Linked DNA regions of Homo sapiens: region 2 is linked to region 1. The links are contacts of gene promoters, found by promoter capture Hi-C in blood cells and fetal thymus (Javierre and others, 2016). All regions are on one chromosome and are shown on one strand. Each heading gives the region's core, a stretch centred on a gene start or on the middle of the fragment in contact. The rest is flanking DNA. Distances are from core to core; before and after follow the strand shown.

Region 1 (6,456 bases), core at 911-3,410:
GCCAGGTTCCTTTGATTCTAATCTCAATGCTCGTCATTGCATTGCTATAGTACTGTTATTAACCTCTTGGATGTGTGCAAGTCTAGTTGCTCTGATTAAATTGTGTATCACGCAAGAAGAGCATCTTAGGCTTGTAGGAGTACACCTAGTGGTCTACATTTAGATCATTAGATATTTGAAGAATTAATGGGTTTGCTTGACAAAAAAAAAAATTACAGGATAAGCTTTTTTTGTGCTGTTCTGCAAAACCACACGATGCTTTCAATTCACTCCAAAAAAAAAAAAAAAATCCAAATCAATCCACTTTCACAGAAGACTTGATAAAAAAGTTTTTAATAATAATCAAGGGCTTTGATATGTGATAACATTTTTTTTTTCCTCCCTGGTGAAAAGGCAAATGAATAGCAGGGTTTTGGTGCAGATGCTTAAGGCAACTGCATGGACCTATCTTCAAGGATATGGGGTGCTGCTGTCTGTCGAGTTGAAAACACAAACGTATCCCTTCCCAGGGTTGTGTGATAGGGTGTATTTTGCGATTTTTCTTTCTTTTTGGCCAGCATTTACTTGTCAGGTGTTTCAAGGTGTCTAATATCCCCACTACTATGCTATTTGCCCAAAAGGCACAGCTGATGGGCCTCCTGCAATTCCTGTTCCATATTCTCTTCTCTTAGCATTTACTGAATTATTGAAAGCAGTACGGAGGCAGCCACGTTGAGTTTAGAGTCAGGCTCACTGGACCAAAGCTACTATGTTTTGCCTTTCTCTGTAAAATGAGAAAAGACCTATTTAAAACGTTCTTATGAGATTTAAATGAGCTGAAATGTAAACTAGTAACAGTTAAGGTAGACGACAAGAACTTATCAAGTATCTATGTGCTGCATAGTGAGATAAGTGCCTGGAAAGTAATGATGGCCCCTGTCATCAAGAAGCATACAGTCTACTAAATTACCAGTTTCAACTCTAACTCCTTAGTGGCCAGAAAACGGAGTAAGTTGGAAGACAGTAAAATCTGAAGTCTGGCACCAGGGATCAAGTGCCAGTTCCTCAACTTTACAGATGCAGTGGGTTGAATAGTCTCCAAAAGATATGTCTATGTCCTAACTCCCAGGACATGTGAAAGTGACCTTATTTGGGAAAAGGGCCTTTGCAGATGTGATTAAGGACCTCCAGATGAGATGATCTTGGATTATCCCCGTGGACTCTAAATTCAATGTTCAGTGTCCTAAAAACACACAGAGAAGTGGCACAGGCACAGGAGAAGGCCATTAGAAGACAGGCCGAGATTGGAGTCATGCAACAAGAGGCCACGGACCGCCTGGAACCGTTAGAAGCTGAAGAAGCAAAGCATTCTCCCCTAGAGCCTTCAAAAGGTGCAGGGCTCTGCCAACAGCTTGATTTTGGAATTCTTGCCTCTAGAACAGTTAAAGAATAAAATTCTGTTGCTTGACACGAGCAAGTTTGTGGTGTCAGTTTCTTCATCTGGAAAATGGGGCATATATCCTAACCACAATCTTATTTCCTGAAGTATAAAATGGAATAACAGCAGTTTCCAGGCACGAGCAGACACTAAAAATGGCAAACATTTATTGAGAGCGTTCCATGCTAAGCGCTTTGCACGTATCACTTAATTATTTCTATTTTATTGATCAGGAAGCCAAAGCTCATAAAAACTGTAATTTTCCCAGAGCCACACAGCTAGCAAGTGAAAAAAACGGGATTACAATTCAAATCGACTCACAAGATACCCCTTTTATCCTCCACGCTGGACTGCTGAGGAAGTATGCAAATTAACACACTTTAGAAACTTTAGCTACTTCAATATTTGTTCAGGCTACGGGATGCAGGCCTCTTATTAACCGCGCCAGCCAGGTCTGTCCTTCAGCAGCCTGTTCTGCCTCGCAAGAGCTCTCCCTCTCTTTCCAGCACGGAAGCCACAGGGTTAATGACGTCATTTCCCGTGGCCGTTGTCGCGTCCTCCGCCCGACGGATTCTTGCAAGGGCCAAAATCCTCGCGCCTCAAGAGGAGGCATAACAGCAGCGGACCAATAGAAATTCCGAATTTTTGTATTCTCTGGGAAGCTCCACCTCTTAGTCCCTGATCCGCCGCGGAAGATGAAAAAAAGCGGCCCGGGGGCGGAGCAAGGCAAGGAAGCGGAAGCGGAGAGGCGGTCGGGATCCGCTGCGCGAGCTGTCTCGGTCCCACGTGTGCGGTGAGTGTGGCAGGCTCAGCGGTCGCTCTTGGGAGGGGTTCGCACCCTGCCGGGCGCTGGAAGTCGGGAAGGTCTCTCGGGGCTGTTGTCCACTGGGCAGTCTCCTCTGGCCTCTTTCTGGGCTAGGAGTTTGGGACTGACTGGAGCCTGGCAAGAAGGGCGGGACTGGCCGGGCGCGGTGGCTCACGCCTGTAATCCCAGCACTTTGGGAGGCCGAGGCGGGCGGATCACAAGGTCAGGAGATCGAGACCATCCTGGCTAACACGGTGAAACCCCGTCTCTACTAAAACTACAAAAAATTAGCCGGGCATGGTGGCGGGCGCCTGTGGTCCCAGCTACTTGGGAGGCTGAGGCAGGAGAATGGCGTGAACCCGGGAGGCGGAGCTTGCAGTGAGCCAAGATCGTGCCACTACACTCCAGCCTGGGAGACAGAGCAAGACTCCGTCTCAAAAAAAAAAAAAAAAAAAAAAAGAAGGGCGGGACTCCGACCTCTCTCCCACCACGTTGCCCTGCGTGCCGGGTTAGAGTGGACTAGCTTCACTCCGGAATCCCAGCCCGTGCTCGGCCTGATCAGCCTGTCTGTGCTACTTCACAAACCCCAACTCCAGTGCTAGGCGGTTTGCCTGAATGTACGCAGATTCTAAGTGCTGGGAGGAAACGAACTGGATGCTGAGTTGGCAGATAGTGGAGTCTGAAGAAGTGATCTTTAAACGGAGATTTGGAAGCTCAGGGAGTACTTCAAGCAGAGGCGATAATGGGCTAAGTTCCTGAGATGGGAGCTAGGAAGGAGTATAGTTAGAGTACAAGATAAAGTTAGCCGGATAGAGTGGAACTAGGTTCTGTAGGGCCTTGAAGGTCATGATGGGGAATTTTTTTTTCTGTACAATAGGAAAACATTTCCGTTCCTATTACCATGTGTAGAAAACATTGAAGACTTGTAAGCAAGTGAGAATCATGAATAGGCCCTGGTTCTCTTTAGAAAATGTATTACATTTGGAAGCTCAAGAGATTGTATTGGTAATAGTTTGCATTAGGGTGGTGACGTAAGGGACATTTAAGAGAACTAACTTATGGTTCAGCGTGGCAGAGTAGAGAGGAAAATGTCAAGGGTAACTCAGATTTCTTACTTGAGCAGTAAAGTAGATGATGTGCCATTGGCTGAGATGGAGGACGATAGGGCAGGGAAAAATAGTATATTGTTGTTTGTGGGGCAAACAACAATAACATAAAGAACAACATAGAGAATTATGTTTTGGACATATTAAGGGTAAGGTTCCTGTTAGACACATAATTAGAGGTATCAGATAAGCAGTTATACACAAGTTTGGACCCCAAGGAGAAGTTCATAATGGAGACATGATTTGGGAGTACTCAGCATAAAAAGCCAGGAGATTGGATGAGACCACCTAGGGAGAAGTGTGGAGAGAGAAGGGAAGTTCCCTAGGGCAAAGATTTGAGGAATGCTAACATGTAGAGGTTGGTCTATAAGAAAATGTCATTTAAACTGAATTTGAAGGATGGGTAGAAATTGTGTTGGTAGAGAGAATGGCTTTAAACTTCACTATTCTGATAAGAATAGTGGCTCCTGTGTGGTGGTGATGAGTGGGGTGAATTAAGACCACATTTTGAATGGCTGTGAATGCCTGAGTTGGAACTTTTTCCTGAAGGCAGTGGGAAAGCTTTGAAGCTATTGGAGCATGGAAATGACATGAAATAGGTGTGCTACTGGAAGGTTAATCAGGCAGCGGAAAGTGGATCAAAGCAGATAGGATCTAAACAAAACTGAGCAAGAGGTAACAGGAGCCTGAATGGGGTAATAGAGGGAAAGGAAAAAGGGGGGCGAATTCCAAGAGACACTATTGAATGTGATGATTCATTACGAAGGTACAGGGTTCCCAAGCAAAGCAAATTGCATTTTGCCCAGTGCAAAAAGCAAGACTCAAAAAGTTACATATTGTATGATTCCATGTATAAGAATGCCATTCTGGAAAAGACAAAACAGGAGTGAAAACCTAATCATTGGCAGTCAGGAAAGAGGGAAGGAGTTGAATACAAAGGAGCTGTACCAGGGGACTTTTTAGAGTGACAGGACTTTTCTGTAAGATACTGTGGTAGTGGATGCATGAGTCTTAGCCATTTGTTGAAGCCCGTGGAATTATACACCAGAAAGAGTAAACTTGACTATATGCACATTTAATAAATCTGCCAGCATTTCTGGGGATGGAATGCAGGCTGTGACAAATCAGTTAAACTATATTATAAACATGTAACTTCACTAAAGAGGGTGAGGGGCCGAAGGGCTGATCTAAGAACCTTTTTTTTTTTTTTTTGGCCTGCAGCAGTAATTGCTGCAGGCAGAATACACTGACTTGAATGCTAAAGTTAGCAAGTAAAACTTAAGAGGAGGTAGGATGTCCATATATTCTCCAAACATCTTGTCTGAAATGTTTATTAATTGCTATGGTAGTTTAACATTTGAAATAGAGTCTCACTCTGTTGCCCAGGCTGGAGTGTAGTGGCACAATCTCAGCTCGCTGCAGCCTCTGCCTCCTGGGTTCAGGTGATTTTCCTGCCTCAGCCCCCTGAGTAGCTGGGATTACATGTTTGCAACACCACCATGCCCAGCTAAATTTTGTATTTTTAGTAGAGATGGGGTTTGGTCTTGAACTCCTGACCTCAGGTAATCCACCTGCCTCAGCCTCCCAAAGTGCTGGGATTACAGGTGTGAGCCACCATGCAAGCCTCTAAGTAACTTTGGAAAAGTATTTTGAATGGATACAAAAAAGAATTGTACGTCAACACTGTACTGTCATTGTAAATTTATTTCTCACGGGGTACAGGTTAGCAATTCTGAAACTATGCATGTATAGTAGGGTGGAATATGTGTATAAATAAATTGTAGATGGTGGGAAGCAGGTTGCTCACTGTCAGAGAAGGAAGTTACAAATGAGCAAGAGGAGATGCCTGGAGGAAAATATGTGGTGCTTGATTAGATTTGGAAACATCAGTATGAGCTTCAAGTTATTGTAATAGATATAAAAATAAATATAGGTATGTGCATATGCATAAGTTAATATACATATATGTGTTTCCTGAATCTGTCTGCCGAAAGGACATAGAAACAGGGACACCTCAGTGACAACAAGTGCGCCTAGCACTCAGATCTTGGTTTTTAAATACCATTCTCAATGAAAGGAACCAGGATTCCTTGGAGAAGTGGCTGATTTCAGGGCTAGGTTAAGGAAAATACAGAAGGAACCTGGAGCCAGTGCCAGGAAATAAGGATGTGCTTTAAAAGCAAAACAAAACAGTTGGGCCGCGTCAAAAGGACACAGAAGCAACCTGAGAAACTTCCCCCTGGCTGGAGCTAGCATTATTTGAGCAACAAAATAACAGTGGTATTGGATTATAACCAAGGAATGAAATAAATATCTGAGACTATATGATACAAGTAAATAGATGGAAAAGATGGGACAAGTCTTCCCTACAGAAAAGTTGAGAATAACAAAGGCAAAAGTAATAAGAGAAATAGAAGATCACCATTTAAATGCAGTAATTGCTGCAGGCGATATCCACCGACAAATGCTAAAGTTAGCAGGTAAAACTTAGGAGGACATAGGATGTCTACATATTCTCCAAACATCTTGTCTAAAATGTTTATTAATTGCTGTGGTAGTTTAACGTATGCCTGGATTCTTTAGTACCCCTCCTTCTGGGAAGTGGAGCTTAATTTTCCTCTGACTTTGGGCTGGACTTGGTGGTTTGGATCTAATAAAGATGGAAAGGTTAAAGTGGCAACTTCACAGTGGAGAAACCTGGAAAACACTACTTTGACCAAGTGAACACGGTTAACATAAACAGTAATAAGTCATGTTAATGTCATGTACCTCTTGATAGAGTACTACCAGAAGAAAGCTTGACCTCTGGTAGTCTTCCAAAAAATGTGTAGCCTTAGCCTAATCATGAGAAAACATCAGGCAAACCCCAAATGAGGAATATTCTACAAAATACAAAGGAGACTTGATGGCCAGATTCAGTGTATCCTGGTACAGAAAGAGGATATTAGTGGAAAAACTGGTAAACTCCAACTCAACTCTGTAGCTTAGTTAACTGTATGTTAACATTAGGGGAAGCTGGGGAAAGGGTATATGTGAACTGTGTATCTTTTCAACTCTTTTGTAAAGCTAAAATTATTTCAATATAAAAATTAGAACAAACATACAGAGAAAACATGTAAATGAATGGA
Region 2 (6,036 bases), core at 1,218-3,717, 3.2 Mb before region 1:
AGCCACCATGCTCGGCTACAATGTAATTTATGAGACTACCTACTTTGTCTATCATCTGGTTAATGTAAAAGCTACGACTTTCTAATTTTTGTGGGTATATGCGGCAGCACTTTACAAAAACAAAATTAAGGCTGCTTGGAAAAGTTTAAGACAGAATTTGCAGTAAGTGAAGCCTCTGATCATGCTGCAAAACCAAGAGTAGTTAATGGGGAAGCAATATGGTGAAAAGAGCATCAGTGTCACTTTCAGAAGAGGTAGAATTGAGACTCAGGTGTGTCATCCTAGGCAAATCCTGTAACTTCCCTTAGTTTCCACTTCTCACCTAAATTTAGTATTATATCTATCCTAGCAATCTCTCAATTCTGTATAAGGGTCAAAATGAGTGTGGCAAGTGCTAATACAAAAGTAAGACCTAATCATTGTTATAGGAATGAAACTTGTTTTTGATTGACACACCTGCCTGAATTAAAGAAACAAACTGGCCAGGCGCGGTTGCTTACACCTGTAATCCTAGTACTGTGGGAGGCCGAGGCGGGTGATCTCTCACGAGGTCAACAGATCGAGACCATCCTGACCAAACATAGTGAAACCCCGTCTCTACTAAAATACAAAAATTAGCTGGGCGTGGTGGCATGCGCCCATAGTCCCAGCTACTCAGGAGGCTGAAGCAGGAGAATTGCTTGAACCCAGGAGGCAGAGGTTGCAGTGAGTTGAGATCGCACCACTGCACTCCAGCCTGGCGACAGAGCGAGACTCCATCTCACAAAAAAAAAAAAAAAAAAAAGAAACAAATTTAGTTTCATCAACATTTGTTTCTTGGAATAACCTCAGCAGCTTCCCACTAATGGTTAGTTAGGATTCTAGTTAACCGCATCCCTTCATATTTCAGTTTAGACAAGATGCAAGGAAAATCTTGAGTAACTTGTCCTAGGATACAAAATTAATTTAGTGACAAGGCCAGGATGCAAGTCTGTCTTCTGATTATTAGTTCAGATCACTTTCTACCATACTTTACTCAGTTGTCTTTCCCATTCTTTATTATAACCAACAGGCCAGGTGATTCTGACACACACCAGATTTTGAGCTACCACTCTACTGCATTAGATGTGGTAGTGGGGAAGTAATTATTATTTTATTATCACACTTATTATTTTATAAAGCTTTATTGTAGTATTATTTATATGCCATACAATTCACCAATTTAAATTTAACAACTCAATGGTTTTTAGTATAATCACAGAATTGTGCAACCATCACAATTAATTTTAGAACATTTCATCACTCAGAAAGAAACACCCTATTTGATAGCAGTCATTCTCTATCCTCCCCTCCCCCCAACCTCTGGCAACCACTAATTTCTGTTATACAATTTGCCTGTTTGGTACCTTTCATACAAATGGAATCATACAATATGTGGTTGTGACTGGTTTCTTTCACTTGGCATGTTTTCAAGATAGACTTATTGTTTTAAAATTATCAAAGTAACAATATAGTTTAGAAATAAAAGAAAAAAATCACTCATAATCTGACCAGAAGCAGTGGCTCACACCTGTATTCCCAGTACTTCGGGAGGCCGAGGCGGGCAGATCACCTGAGCCCAGGAGTTCGAGACCAGCCTGGGCAACATGGCGAAACCCTGTCTCTATAAAAAACACAATTAGCCGGGCGTGGTGGCGCGCGCCTGTGGTCCCAGCTACTGGGGGAACTGAGGCGGGGAGGATCGCTTGAGCCCAGGAGGTTGAGGCTGCAGTGAGCAGGGATCGCGCCGCTATACTCCAGCCTAGGTGACACAGCCAGACCTTGTATCCAAAAAAAAAAAAAGTCATGATCCCATTCTAATCAATGCTTTTCTTCTCTCGCCTGCAAGTGCACGTTTATCTTATTGAAAAACAAATGGAGGATGCCATTGGCCTCCACACGGCTCTCACCTCTCTCCAAAACCTAGCTCGCAGCCTGCCAGAGCGCAGCTAGAGTTTCTGGGCAGAGGAGGGAGAAGCACCCCGCCCATCCCCGCCGGCGCCTCGCCTACGTCACTGCTTCGAGCCGCAGACCCCCTCCCTCCTTCCCGGTCGCGGTAGCTTTGACAGAGCGCAATGGCGGCAACCGCGTCTGCAGGGGTGCCGGCGACCGTGTCAGAAAAGCAAGAGTTTTACCAGCTTCTGAAGAACCTGATCAATCCAAGCTGTATGGTGCGGAGGCAAGCAGAGGAAATCTATGAAAATATCCCAGGTCTGTGTAAGACTACCTTCCTCTTAGATGCCGTCAGAAATAGAAGAGCAGGTTATGAGGTGAGACAAATGGCTGCCGCACTGCTACGACGGCTTTTGTCCTCTGGGTTTGAGGAGGTTTATCCAAATCTGCCTGCTGATGTTCAGAGAGATGTCAAGATTGAACTGATTCTGGCTGTTAAGTTAGAAACACATGCTAGCATGAGGAAAAAACTTTGTGATATTTTTGCAGTGCTGGCCAGGAATTTGATAGATGAGGATGGCACTAACCACTGGCCGGAAGGTCTGAAGTTTCTTATTGATTCAATCTACTCCAAAAATGTGGTTCTATGGGAAGTTGCACTTCACGTTTTCTGGCACTTTCCTGGGATTTTTGGGACCCAAGAGCGGCATGATTTGGATATCATCAAACGGTTGTTGGACCAGTGTATTCAAGATCAAGAACATCCAGCAATCAGGACATTATCCGCTAGAGCTGCAGCTGCATTTGTACTTGCTAATGAGAATAATATTGCTCTTTTCAAAGACTTTGCAGACTTGCTTCCTGGAATCTTACAGGCTGTGAATGACTCATGCTACCAGGATGATGATTCAGTGCTAGAATCCCTTGTTGAGATTGCAGATACCGTACCTAAGTACTTGGGTCCTTATTTAGAAGATACTCTACAGTTGAGTTTGAAGTTATGTGGAGACTCTAGGCTTAGTAATCTGCAGCGCCAGCTGGCCCTCGAAGTTATAGTGACCTTGTCTGAAACTGCCACTCCGATGTTGAAAAAACATACAAATATTATTGCACAGGCAGTTCCTCATATATTAGCAATGATGGTTGATCTACAAGATGATGAGGACTGGGTAAATGCTGATGAAATGGAAGAAGATGATTTTGACAGCAATGCAGTTGCTGCGGAGAGTGCACTAGACAGACTGGCTTGTGGGCTTGGTGGAAAAGTTGTTTTACCAATGACCAAGGAGCATATCATGCAGATGCTTCAGAGCCCTGACTGGAAGTATCGACATGCTGGATTAATGGCCTTATCTGCCATTGGAGAAGGATGCCATCAACAAATGGAATCAATTCTAGATGAAACAGTTAACTCCGTTTTGCTTTTTCTTCAGGATCCTCATCCAAGGGTGAGGGCTGCAGCCTGTACTACACTTGGACAGATGGCTACAGATTTTGCACCTAATTTCCAAAAGAAATTTCATGAAACAGTGATTGCAGCTCTGTTACGTACCATGGAAAATCAAGGTAATCAGCGTGTGCAATCACATGCAGCTTCTGCTCTTATTATTTTTATTGAAGACTGCCCTAAATCATTGCTAGTTCTATATGTGGATAGTATGGTGAAAAATCTACATTCCGTCTTGGTGATTAAACTTCAAGAGTTGATTCGGAATGGAACTAAGTTGGCTTTGGAACAACTTGTGACAACCATTGCATCAGTTGCAGATACAATAGAAGAAAAATTTGTCCCATATTATGATATATTCATGCCCTCACTAAAGCACATTGTTGAGCTTGCTGTTCAGAAGGAACTCAAGCTTCTGAGAGGAAAAACTATCGAGTGCATTAGCCATATTGGTCTTGCTGTTGGGAAGGAAAAATTTATGCAAGATGCATCAAATGTGATGCAGCTGTTGTTGAAGACACAATCAGACTTAAATAATATGGAAGATGATGACCCTCAGACCTCTTACATGGTTTCAGCATGGGCTAGAATGTGTAAAATTCTTGGAAAAGATTTTCAACAGTACCTTCCACTGGTTATCGAGCCTCTTATTAAGACTGCTTCAGCTAAACCTGATGTTGCTCTCTTAGACACACAGGATGTGGAAAATATGAGTGACGATGATGGCTGGCAATTTGTAAATCTTGGAGACCAGCAGAGTTTTGGAATTAAAACTTCAGGACTTGAAGCAAAAGCAACTGCTTGCCAAATGTTGGTTTACTATGCTAAGGAGTTAAGGGAAGGGTTTGTGGAATATACAGAACAAGTTGTGAAGCTGATGGTTCCTTTACTGAAATTTTATTTCCATGACAATGTTCGAGTGGCAGCAGCAGAGTCCATGCCTTTTCTCCTGGAATGTGCAAGAATTCGTGGCCCAGAGTATCTTGCACAGATGTGGCAATTCATATGTGACCCCTTAATCAAGGCTATTGGTACTGAACCAGATACAGATGTGCTCTCAGAAATAATGAATTCTTTTGCAAAGTCCATTGAAGTTATGGGAGATGGTTGCCTTAATGATGAACACTTGGAAGAACTGGGAGGAATACTGAAAGCAAAACTTGAAGGGCACTTTAAAAACCAAGAATTGAGACAGGTGAAAAGACAGGAAGAAAACTATGATCAACAGGTTGAGATGTCTCTGCAAGATGAGGATGAATGTGATGTTTATATTCTGACCAAAGTATCAGATATTTTGCACTCATTATTTAGTACTTATAAGGAAAAGATTTTACCATGGTTTGAACAACTACTTCCATTAATTGTAAATCTAATTTGTTCAAGTAGGCCATGGCCAGACAGACAGTGGGGATTGTGCATATTTGATGACATCATAGAGCACTGCAGTCCAACTTCATTTAAATATGTAGAATATTTTCGGTGGCCAATGCTACTAAATATGCGAGATAACAACCCTGAAGTCAGGCAAGCTGCTGCTTATGGCCTGGGTGTCATGGCACAGTTTGGTGGAGATGATTATCGTTCTTTATGTTCAGAAGCTGTTCCACTTCTGGTAAAAGTTATTAAGTGTGCAAATTCCAAAACCAAAAAAAATGTCATTGCTACAGAGAACTGTATCTCAGCAATAGGGAAGATTTTGAAGTTTAAGCCTAACTGTGTAAATGTAGATGAAGTTCTTCCACACTGGTTATCATGGCTTCCACTGCATGAAGATAAAGAGGAAGCTATTCAGACTTTGAGTTTTCTCTGTGACCTAATTGAAAGTAACCACCCAGTTGTAATTGGTCCAAATAATTCCAATCTTCCCAAAATAATCAGTATAATTGCAGAAGGAAAAATTAATGAGACTATTAACTATGAGGATCCTTGTGCCAAACGCCTAGCTAATGTCGTGCGTCAGGTACAGACTTCTGAAGATTTATGGTTGGAATGTGTATCACAACTTGATGATGAACAGCAGGAAGCCTTACAGGAGTTGCTAAATTTTGCTTGAAGCACTTTAATATAACTTGAATATTATCTATTATAAAAGTAACTACAAATAAGTGTTGTGAATAGATTTTATTATAAATCAGAGAACTGTTTTCTCCCTGCTAAGCAGTTTATAGTTCTTCTCCATGTTTCTCCAGAATTAATCAGTGTTAGTCCTCTGTTTATCTCGCATGTTTTATCTTCCAAACACAGACCTTGGTGATAACCTGTGCTTCAAACTGTCTTAAACAATGTTTGTCACCTTTCCCCTAGTTGATGTAAAGTATATAAATTGTTGCTATTTGTTTGAACTATTATTGATGCTAGCCAAGCAGTATACTTGATGTGAAGATGTCATGCTATCACAATATGCTAAGAGCTCACAAAAATAAGATAGAATTTCCAGGACAAACATCTTTGGAATTGTGAGTGAAGGATATAGTGGCAGGCTTGTCCCTCTTTAATTAATACTCTTGGTATTTGTGGTGATGGGAGGATGCTGTTACTAGGAGAGTTTTGAGATACTGCAGTGGATGTGGGATGTATATGAACTTCTTCATAATGTACTCCTGGGAACTGGGTAGGACATATCCATATTGTAGTTCCCAAGGTGTCTGGTTGAGAGTTAGAGAACTTTTAAATTTCTT

The links. Contacts are between HindIII fragments. The CHiCAGO score rates a contact against its expected background, and 5 or more counts as called.
Region 2: a contact is called between a fragment that was not itself captured here and the fragment with the promoter of PUM3 in region 1, in 1 of 17 cell types (non-activated CD4 T cells). The highest score is 5.4, in non-activated CD4 T cells.

What each region holds. Positions count from the first base shown.
Region 1 is chr9:2,839,799-2,846,254 of GRCh38, reverse strand. It overlaps PUM3 (pumilio RNA binding family member 3), which reads left to right and starts at 2,160. Exons shown (of 18, transcript NM_014878.5): 1 at 2,160-2,210. RefSeq lists enhancers at 1,829-2,068, 1,892-2,186, 2,570-3,131. The HindIII fragment of the contact is 3,665 bases long and covers 227-3,891 here.
Region 2 is chr9:6,011,665-6,017,700 of GRCh38, reverse strand. RANBP6 (RAN binding protein 6) reads left to right here and starts at 2,077. Exons shown (of 1, transcript NM_012416.4): 1 at 2,077-6,036. The coding sequence starts at 2,094. The coding sequence ends at 5,411. RefSeq lists an enhancer at 2,199-2,258. The HindIII fragment of the contact is 2,610 bases long and covers 1,163-3,772 here.